2 separate regions of the Homo sapiens genome follow, and region 2 is linked to region 1. Evidence: promoter capture Hi-C in 16 types of primary human blood cells and fetal thymus (Javierre and others, 2016). All regions are on one chromosome and are shown on one strand. The core of a region is centred on a gene start or on the middle of the fragment in contact, and the rest is flanking DNA. Distances in the headings are between cores, read along the strand shown. Region 1 holds the start of NENF (neudesin neurotrophic factor). Region 2 overlaps INTS7 (integrator complex subunit 7).

Evidence for each region. Contacts are between HindIII fragments. The CHiCAGO score rates a contact against its expected background, and 5 or more counts as called.
Region 2: a contact is called between a fragment that was not itself captured here and the fragment with the promoter of NENF in region 1, in 7 of 17 cell types (non-activated CD4 T cells, naive CD4 T cells, fetal thymus and 4 more). The highest score is 9.3, in non-activated CD4 T cells.

Annotation. Positions count from the first base shown.
Region 1 is chr1:212,430,868-212,436,387 of GRCh38, reverse strand. NENF (neudesin neurotrophic factor) reads right to left here and starts at 3,468. Exons shown (of 4, transcript NM_013349.5): 1 at 3,268-3,468. The coding sequence starts at 3,444. LOC105372906 (a long non-coding RNA gene) reads left to right here and starts at 3,571. Exons shown (of 3, transcript XR_922577.4): 1 at 3,571-3,763; 2 at 4,544-4,647. RefSeq lists an enhancer at 2,873-2,962, a silencer at 3,123-3,682 and a cis regulatory region at 5,106-5,393. The HindIII fragment of the contact is 20,197 bases long and covers 1-4,035 here.
Region 2 is chr1:212,028,335-212,033,854 of GRCh38, reverse strand. The region is part of intron 1 of INTS7 (integrator complex subunit 7); the gene reads left to right. Among named protein-coding and RNA genes, the nearest start is that of INTS7, 4.5 kb to the left of the region's middle. RefSeq lists an enhancer at 3,005-3,054. The HindIII fragment of the contact is 5,049 bases long and covers 1-4,622 here.

The DNA.
Region 1 (5,520 bases), core at 2,219-4,718:
AGTGAGCTGAGATCACACCACTGCACTCCAGCCTGGGAAACAGAGCAAGACTCCGTCTCAAAAAAAAAAAAAAAAAAAAAGACCCATGGGCTACAGCATCTGCTCCTGCCTGAGGGCTTCCAGCCTGCCCCTTCTGATAGCCTGCTCTATGTATTTCCAATTTGCCCAGCCAGCCCCCGCTATCGTGTAAACCAATCCTTATGATAAACCATTTATCTATCTATATATAGTTGACCCTTGAACAACACAGGTTTGAACTGCATGGGTCCACTTATATGTGGGTTTTCTTCCACCTCTGCCACCCCTGAGATAGCAACACCAACCACTCCTCTTCCTTCTCAGGATGCAGACCTTTATAATGATCCACTTTCACTTAATAGTAAATATATTTTCTCTTCTTTATGATTTTCTTAGTAACACTTTCTTTTGTCTAGCTTACATTACTGTAAGAATTCAGTATATAATACATTTACAAAATACGTGGTAATCGACTATGTTCTTGGGTCTTGTGGTCAACAGTAGGCTATTAGTAATTAAGTTTTGAGCCAGGCATGGAGGCTCACACGTGTATTCCCAGCACTTTGGGAAACTGAGGTGGAAGAGTTGCTTGAGCCCAGGAGTTTGACACCAGCCTGGGCAACACAGGAAGACCCCATCTCTACAGAAAATTTAAAAAATAGCCAGGTGTGGTGGTGCACACCTGTAATGCCAGTAACTGGGAAGGCTGAGGTAGGAGGACTGCTTGAGCCCAGGAGGAGGCTGTAGTGAGCTGTGTTCCTGCCACTGCACTCCAGGCTTAGCAATAGAGTGAGACCCTGTCTCAAAAAAAAAAAAAAAAAAGGAAAAAAACTGTAGTTTTGGGGGTAGTCAAAAGTTATACATGGCTGGGTGCACACCTGTAATACTAGCGGCTTGGGAGGCTGCGGCAGGAGGATCGCTTGGGCCCAGGATTGCCAGGCTCTAGTGCACCATGACTGCCTGTGAAAAGCCACTCACTCCATTCTGGGCGACACAGCAAGACCCTGCCTCTAAAAGAAAAAAAAGTTATATGCAGACTTTTGACTGCATGGGGGTCAGTACCCCGAACTCCTGTGTTGCTCAAGGATCAACTGTATAGATATAGATATCCAAATGGTTCTGTTCCCTGGTGAAACCTGGACTAATCCAAGTATCTTACGAACAAAGTGGAGACTCAGAGAGGTTTAGTAATTTGCCCCAAATCACACAGCAGAACAGGGACTCAAAACCAGGTATGATCCAATGTATTATACAAATTGTCACACTTCTGAGTGAAAGGGTGTTATTAATAATTATCCCTGGATAACAGGCATAGACCAGAACAATCTAGGTCAAACAACAGCGCAGCACAGCTTGAACCCACTGCACTCAACTGCCTCTCTCGTCCCTCGCTCCCCTCCTCTCTCTGGCTCCTTCCTTCCACCTACAGAGATCCTCAGGCTCCACTCCCAAAACAATTGTTTCCTACCCCTGTTTCCATCTCAAGGTCCTCTCTCTCTCAGTTAAATTTCAATCTATAACATCAACATCAAAAAACCAAGGGTCTTTTCTCAGTCCTCATCTTGCAGTTCTGGCACTCTTGCTGTAACCTCAGTGGTGAACTCTCTCTTTCCTTAGATTCTTGTGCCAGTGGTCCCAAAGATCATCGGGTCAGTTGGAGAGTCCCTAGAAGGAAGATTCCAAGAACCCAGCATATAGTTCTACTCACAGCTGGGAAGGAAAAACACAGAGGGAGAATCTAGGGGAATCTATGTGCAGGTTTCCTATGCTCTCTCCCTCCCATGAGGAAGAGCACACTCTTCCCCCAGCAACAAAACTTGACAGTATGTGCCATTCTTCTGGCAGAACATTCCTCTGCTAGAGATGCCCATTAGACTCAGCACCCAAGGTTTTCACTGGGGGCTGGTCACATGGGGCACCCTCTGCCTAGCATATACAGTGTTCAATACTAACCACACCATCTGTATATACGGCCTAGGCAAGTGAGTCCACCGTTATTGGGTAGGGAAGGGTGAGAAATCCAGACACTAGACAAGTCCCACCCTTGCAAGTAGGCTTTTCTAAGGAGAGCAGGCCTGCCATGTTAATTCTTTTCTGCACGGATGCCTGGACTCTGAACCATCTGGTTCCCTCTGCTACCGGCAAAAAGGCATCCCTTAACATCCTCACATCCCAGCCATGTCTCCCTCCCTCGGTGTCCTCACTGACTCATGGTTCTAAATGGCCCCTTCACAAATGATGCCCAAACTGGCATCACTGACTAAGGGCCAGGTTTCTGATACCCCCATGCAATCCTAGTCCATATAAGGCCAATTAACTCAGGAATTAGCGAGACCAGGCCAGAGGGTTTTGAAAAACATCAGGCCTCTTCCTGCTCTACCACTAACAGGTGGCAGGCCTCAGTTTCCTTATGTGTAAAAGCAGGAGATGGGTTCCTGCCAGCTCTGAAATACTATGGTACTATGACCTCCCCCCAATGCCGTTCCCCCGCTCCACATCTAATATCAGCCCCCTGTTGGTCCTTGTCGTGCGGCTCCAGTCCCAACCAACCCAGGTGGGCAGGTGGTTGTGAGTTTTCTGGACGCCTCTAGACTATTGACGTGTGTGGGTGTGTGTGGGCGGGGGGGTCTCTATTGACGTGTGGCGGGGGGGTTGTGGGGGTCTCTAACCTCCAGTCCACCCTCTGCGCTCACTTCCAGCTTTGGCTGAGCCCCAGGGGTACATGACCTAAAAGTGGGTTTGAGGAGTCCGATGCAGAGGCCTGGGATACAGGGGCAGGAAAAGGAAGTGCAGGCAAAGACTGGCTTATCCCAGGACCTGTCTCAATTCCCACCTAACCCAGGGAGCAGGCTCTGCTTCCCTCCCTCCGTCCCCCGCCACTCCCCACTATGCGTGGGCACAGTAAACGCCTCGGCTGATGCTAACATGAAAACCAAAAAGTTCTGAGGTCTGTACGCAGATCATCAACGAAAAGGCGGCTAGAGGGGAAATCTCCCGGGGACCGAGGGAGAAGTTCAGGGTGGGGTGTGCGGGCAAAGCGGAGCGCTCCGACTGTTGAGGACTCGTCCTCACCCCTCGGCCATCCTTCGGGGCCTAGAGAGAGGAGGCCCCCCGCCGGCCCAGGGCGCCCGCCGCGGGCCGCGCGTCCCCCAGAGCTTCCTGGGCCGCCGGCGCCTCCTGGGTCCCCGCTCGGCTCGCCGCAGATCGGACGCCACCCCGGGTCCCTCGGCCCGCGACACCCCCGCCTACCTCCTCCCCGCCATAGCGGGCCAGCTCCTCCTCGGTGAAAAGCCGCACTGGGGGCCCCCGCTCGGCAGGGCGCGGTGTCTGCCCGGCCCGGGCTGTGGGCAGCCCCGGGGCCAGCGCCAGGACCAGGGCCAGCGCTGCCAGCGGCCGCAGCCGCCGCCGCGGCGCGGGGCCCACCATGGTGAGCGCGCAGCGCAAGGCAAGGCCGGGCCAGGGCGGCGGGGCCCTAGCACGCCCGCCCAGCGTCCCGGAGTCCCGCCCCGCGCCCAGAGCCTCCCCGAGGGCGGGGACCCGAGAACTCCCGCCCTTCGCGCGCCTCCTGCGCCCCGGGGTGGGGCTGGCCGGGCTACTCGGGCCACGCAGCTGGAACCTGGAAATTAGGATTGGAATCCTGAACTCCTAAATCCAAACTACAGACTGGAAGTTACCAAAAAATGTCACAGTGGTTCCTTGATCAGGTAGAAAGATGACAGAGCCCAACATACCAGAACCTAGAAAGGTATATTTCTAAAATAAGACCCCAACTGTCTTAATTCGCTTTTATTTTTGGCTGATTTTTTTTCTTCCTGGTTGTGTTTAAGTTTCTGGTTCCCAAGGAGATTTTTGCAAAGGGTAGGGTGCTGTTACCGATACGCCCTGAAATAATAATAGCTAACATTTGTGCCAAACTTTGCTCATTACTTTATGCAACAAATATTTTTGAGTACCTCCATGTACCAGGTCACTGGGGACTCACCACTGAACAAGACAGATCCACGCCCACGTGAAGCTTACATTGTGTGGGCAGATAGACAATAAGATGCTAAGTAGTATGTTAGATGGTGGTAAATACTAGGGAGAAAAAGTAGGGCAAAGAGATAGGGAGCACTGGGATGGACATTTTATTTTATTTTATTGTTATGTATTTATTTATTTTTGAGACGGAGTCTGTCGCCTACGCTGGAGTGCAGTGGCGCCATCTCGGCCCACTGCAACCTCCACCTTCCGGGTTCAAGTGATTCTCCTGCCTCAGCCACCAGAGTAGTTGGGATTACAGGCACCCACCACCACGCCTGGCTAATTTTTTTTTTTTTTAATTTTTAGTCGAGATGAGGTTTCACTATATGCTGGCCAGGCTGGTCTCGAACTCCTGGCCTCAAGTGAACCATCCACCTCATCCACCCAAAGTGCTGGGATTACAGGTGTGAGGAACGGTGCCCGGTTATGGGGATGGTCATTTTAAATAGGCAGGTTAGGGAAGGCCTCACTGAGAACAGGGTATTTGCATAAAAATCTACAGGAGGCGAAGGAGGCGGTCTAGAGGGAAGAGCACTTTGGTCAAAGGATCAGGTGCATAAATGCGGAGGAATGAGGATGCCCGGCTTGCTGGAGGATCAAGGGAAGGTAAGAGGGGTAGGTGAAGTCAGGAAGGAAGCGGGTAAGGGAGTGGGGGTGGATCTTGGGGGCTTCACAGGTTATTTTCAAGACTGGCTTTTACTTTCAAGACTGGAATAGAGGAATTAACAGAAAAAGGGTCTCATTCCAGACCCAAGAGCAGGTTCTTAGACGTCCACGGCAAAGAATCAGGGCAAGTCGCAGAGCATAGTAGTTAAAATAGTTCATTAGAAACTACTCCATTTCTAATAATAGTACTACTGTGTTTCTGAGTAGTATCCTTGCTTTGAAGTAGTACTAAGCAAGTATTGTTTATATAGGAGCACCTCTGCCTTCAATGTAATGCTTGCTTTTATAGGGCTAAAACTAGCGTACTTCATTACAAAAGCCTATGATCAGCTTGTTACAGACTATTAGTATTGTTATTCTCTTGTGTAACTATTGACTTCAGGGAGAATTTATGGGTGTACTGTTATCTTTAAAGTGAAACTCATTTTTAAACTAAGAATGCCTTTTTCCATTATCTCATTTCCTCAACCATAAACATCTTGTGAAGAGTGCCTATCTTCCTGGGAAAGTCGCCCAGCAGGTTTGGCTTTATCTGACCTTTATTCAAGATGGAATCACTCTGGTTAGGACACTTCTGACATAATTCCCTCCTCCTTTTTACAAGGAGACCTTTAATCCTAAGGGGTGCAGGGGGACAGAGATCCATCTTCAGTAACTTCAAGCTGAACAGAAGCGATGATATTCCTGCCTAACCATTAGGATCCCTTTGCCCAAAGTAGAGAGCTAGCCAGTCAGAAAGCATCTGTATAGTGAGGACCAATCATACATAATTCTAAGTCCCAGAAAAAGGTGAAATCTAGAAAATTAACGTGT
Region 2 (5,520 bases), core at 849-3,348, 400 kb after region 1:
CGCCTCGGCCTTCCAAAGTGCTGGGATTTACAGGCATGAGCCACCGCGCCCGGCCTTAAATGTGTTTTTCAAACACTTTCCTCCTCATTCTGATACATTTCTTTCTTATTCCTCAGTGAAAGTTACAGGTCAGGATAATATCTAATATCCCTACGAGTTCTAAGGACATTTTCTACCATTCTGGTGCAGCTGAGCTTGTCTCATGCTGACAATAGGATAGTGGTTGTGGAACAGGGATAAAGATGGGGCACTGAAGAGGAGTCTAGAATGGTTTAATTCCTCAAATTTTGCAGTTGTAAGAAAAAAACCACAATTTTTCCTTTTTAAAGAAGAGTTGAAATGAAAATATTTTATATCTATAGGAAAGAAATCAGGTGTCAATCTTAGACACAGAGTAAGTGATCATTTGCACTCCTCCCAGCAATGCCTGGCGTGAGTGTTTTACAGGTGAATCTCAGGCTCAGAAAGATGACTTGTTCTTTTTCATCTCATCTGTAGTAACTTTTAAAGCTGTTAGGAAATTAAGTTATAGAAATAGCCAGTTTCGTGTAGAATATAGTTGAGTATTTTAAATATTGAGTCATTTCATCTTGTACCTGTTAAAGTATTTCTGTTTTGTGAGCTAAAGGTCAGAAGGCTACAAGTTCCAACTCTTTTTTTCGTTCCCAAACTCCAAGGAATACTGTTTCTGAAATATCTCCCCCACCTCAGCATACACACTCAGACACATGACTTATTTGATCGGGCTTTGTACTAGGAACATGGCAGTTAATGAGACAAAACTCCTGCCCCTATAGAGCTTACATTCTAGACAGCAGATGCAGACACTCCGCAAATATAGCAAACGTGACAGTTAGTGATACATATTATAAAGGAAAATGAAGCAATGAAAGGGACTGGAGAAAACTGATCTGGGGCTGGAGTTGATTTCTTATTTTATGAAGTATAGGCAAGAAAGACCTCCTCAATCAAGTGGAAGAACAGCAAGTACAAAGGCCCTGAGGTAGAAGCCTCCTTTGCATGCAGTTATCTGGAGCAAAGTAATAGGCAATGAGTATAGAAAGATAACCAGAGTCAGTCGGGCGTGGTGGTTCACGCCTGTAATCCCCGCACTTTGGGAAGCTGAGGCGGGCGGATCACGAAGTCAGGAGATCGAGACCATCCTGGCTAACATGGTGAAACCCTGTCTCTACTAAACAAAATACAAAAAATTAGCCAGGCGTGGTGGTGGGCACCTGTAGTTCCAGCTACTTGGGAGGCTGAGGCAGGAGAATGGCGTGAACCTGGGAGGCGGGGCTTCCAGTGAGCCGAGATCACACCACTGCACTCCAGTCTGGGCAACAGAGCAAGACTGTCTCGAAAAAAAAAAAAGAAAGATAACCAGAGTCCCGTTCAGGTAGGGCCGTGCAAGCCATCAAAAGGACTGGCTTTCATTCTGAGTGAGAAAGGAAACCATGGAGGATTTTCAGCAGGTGTGTGACATGATCTGACTTTCCTTTGAAAAGTATCAGTCTGGCTACTGTGCTGAGAATAGACTGAAGTGGGGAGGGTCAGGGACCCAAGTAGGGAGACCAATGAGAAGGCAACTATAACAATCCAGGGAAAAGAAAATAGTGGCTTAGACCGAGATGGTGACACTGAAAATGTGTGAAGTGCTGAGATTCTGGATATACTTTCAAAGTAGAGCCAAGAAGATTTGCTAATGGATTAGATGAGGATATAAGAGTAAGTGGTCAAGAAAACTTAGAGGTTTTTGGTATGAGCTACTGGGAGGATGTATGTATTGTTTACTGAAATCAAATCAGTTTGGGTCATGTTAAATTTGAGATGTCTCTTAGACATCCAAATGGAGATGATTAGTCAGTTAGGCATAAGATGTAACCTTTGAACGCTATTTTAAAGAAATATTTTGTGGCACTGGTGTCCTTAGAAACACACTCAGGAAATGCTGCCATTCATAACCTGTTATATATTTATAACTGTTGTACTTTATTCTGAGCCTTTTGAGCAAGCATTGGCAGTAAGCTGATTGTTTCTGATCTCTATAGGAATAAGTGAATACTATTTTGAAGCTGACTCAATTCCATTACTTTAGGATGTAGTTAGTAACAGGAAAATCATCCTTCATGTGATAGCCATTCATTTACTCAACAGATATTTACTGACCACCTGCATTGTCTCAGGCTCTATACTCAGACTAGGGGCTATGTTGGCAAACAAGACATCTTTAAGGAGATTGCATACAAATGTAAGGAGATGGACAATGCTAGATCAAATGTGGTGCCGTTAGTCAGGACAAGAAGTTGGATTTTGTGCAGAGTGCAATGGGAAGGCATTGAAAGTTGTAGGCTGATGGCCATGCTGCTTGAGCTTCTGTAAGACTGAGCATACACAAGCAGAGTTAAGTGTCATAATCAAATACATTACAGCTTATGTTTATCTGACACATTTCATGATATGATCATTACTATACATAATTGGCAATATAAAGGATGCATCTCACAAAAATTAGTGTAACTTTTTCACTAATATAATTTCTTAGTCTAAACATTTTTAGATCAGCTGATGGAAGGTTATCCTGATGATTTGGGAAAACTTATGCAAGATCTCCTTCCCCCTGGGAAAAGAGGAGTCTCTTAAATGATATTATTCAGCCTATCTGCCTTCTGCAATGTTGACCTTGGAAAGGATGAGATGAAAGCAATGGGGAAGAGAGCAGTGACTCATTCCCTTTCTTGCAGCTGATGCAATGGGAAGGGAGGAAATATAGAGGATAGATTTGTTACTAGAGGTGCTGGTGAATGTAATGCTGTGTGAAAAACCTTGATGGTGTGCTTAATGAAAAATTTAGTTATGAAATAGAGAAATGATGTGAATCAGGACAACTGTCTCTGCACTCTAATTTCCCCCTTAGACGGTGTCACCTCACCTGTATTCCAAAATACCTGAATTCTCAGACCATCAAGAAAGTTTGTCAAGAAAGACCACAGATTGCTTTTACATTATCGATATGGCTCAGATGTTGTTGGTGTTTCAGTAAACAAATATGAGGCCTTTGGGGAAGTATCTTCATAGGCCCTCCTCAAGAGAAAGGCCTCAGCAGCCAGATTTGTTCCAGGTGACTAATTCCATACCATAACTGATTGATTCAGAAGTAGGCATGTGACCCACACTGAGTCAAATTCTTTCTCCTGAGAATCTCTGCTGCCAGACCACACTTAGTCTGAGAGTGTTGAGAAGCGGACCTATAAAATCATATAGAATTAGGCCGGGCGCAGTGACTCACACCTGTCATCCCAGCACTTTGGGAGGCCGAGGCGGGCGGATCACCTGAGGTCAGGAGTTCGAGACCAGCCTGCCCAAGATGGTGAAATCCCATCTGTACTAAAAATACAAAAATTAGCCGGGGGTGGTAGCAGGCACCTGTAATCCCAGCTGCTCAGGAGGCTGAGACAGGAGAGTCACTTGAACCCAGGAGGCAGAGGTTGCAGTGAGCTGAGATCATGCCATTGCACTCCAGCCTGGGCGACAAGAATGAAACTCCATCTCAAAAAAAAAAAACAAAAAATCATGTAGAATTGAAGCTAAGGTGAGACTCTGGGCAACTTAATGCAACATAAAAACCAGCAGCCTGGTTGGTAATTCCTTGATGGGCTATGAACTAATCCAAAAATTCAAGTTTTTACTGAAACCCACAGACTCATTCTTATATATAACTAAGATTTACTGTCTTGGAATTTGCAAAGTGGGTTATTAAATATTCCTAGAAGTTGGTATCCATAAACTCAAATTTGTTTAGAATTCTAGATTAGTATTCTCATGTGCATACTGGATGATGTTGCATACATCTTGCCATGTACGTTTACAGACATTTTCTGAAATTTGGGGGATGGATGCTGCCTTATTAATGCATCATTAGTTTTCACTGTCATTTTACTTGTTTCTATTTCTGCTTTTTAAATATAAAAATGGGCTTTGCCATCAATTTTTTAAGCTGTGGGTTGTATGTTTGTGTTCATGTTTCTACCCATGTCCCCCCACACACCTTTTATTAATGTATAGATTTTAAGATATGTTCGTGTTATGGTTCAATTTTGAATCATCCTCATCTCTTAGCTAAAGCAAATGTATGTCACAAATTGTCCTAAATTGTGTTTGTTTGGTAATGCTTTATTTGTGGTGTTCTTTGTAGTGGATGTTAGTTATGTTGATGGTTGCTTAATATATTTTGAACACTCTTTTTATGCTTAAGGAATGTCCCATATCATGAACCTTGTCTTACTAAGGTAGAAGCAAAAACTTATTTCCTAGTTTCCCTTGCAAGAGTGCAGGATCTGACTTAGGCTCTGCCAGTCAGACACACCTCCTTCACACTGTCTGATTTAGAAGTTAGAGATGCAAGAAGGAAGAGTTGAAGTGTCCACTCACAGTTCTGCCATGGCAGCAGCAGTATTTCTAGCTTACAGCAGCAACAACAATGGCTACGATATTCCTAGATGACAGCAGAGCTAATTGTTGCATCTGGTGTTTCCTATCAAAGACAGGGTTCTTCCATCCAGTTGGTTGGGTAGTGTGGTATTAGGTGTTCCTAGAAATTTAGCCTTAAAATTGTTTCTTAAGCTTTTAATAAACTCATTTTCTGCCTCATAAGCCAGAGTTAGCTTCTGTTGCTTGCAGCTAAGAACTGCTGATAGATGCTACTTGGAGATTTGTGCTGTTTTGAAAACTTGATTAATGTGTATCCCAAACCCCAAGTTTACCATAATTTATGGTATTCCCCTAATTCCCTAGAATTCATCACCTCAGAATTCCACCATTTAATCACTAATTTAAATGTCTCATTCTTGAATCTTAATCTCTTTCTTTCTAGTTGCTTGCTAGAGATGCATTTTAGCATAGTGGTTAGCACTATAGCCTTTGGAGCTACATTGCCAGAATTTGAATCCCAGCTCTGTCATTTGTCAGCATTGTTGTTTCTTACGCAAATTGCTTAGCTTGTCTGTGCCTGTTTCCTCACCTTTCAAATGGGGAAAATAATGGTACCTAATTTATGTGATTTTTAGTGAGACTTTAATACATGCAAAGTGCTTAAAGTGACTGGCACAGAATAAGCACTTCATGTGTATCATCATTATCATTATGATTAACTGCTATTTTGGCTAGTCTTTATTTTCATTCAGACCTCGGTATTTCACCTCTCTACATTTCTGTACCTGTTTTACTTCTTTGTTCAGCTTAGATTTCATGGTCCTTCATTTTATTAACTGCATTTACTTTCTTACCAGTACTTTAAATTCACATCCAAGGTTCCATTCTACTCATGTATCCCCAAAGGCAGTCAAAAATTGCTGCAGAAAGTCATACAGTGGGGTACATGGCTATCATCATAAATGGGAGCCGAATCTACACTGACCTTCAACATGGACCTGCAGTACTGTAATGTTTCTGCAGTACTACTATGTTTCTTTGGTCAGACACTTCTACCTTCTTCAGTAAGATTTTAGATCTTTTACTTTTCTA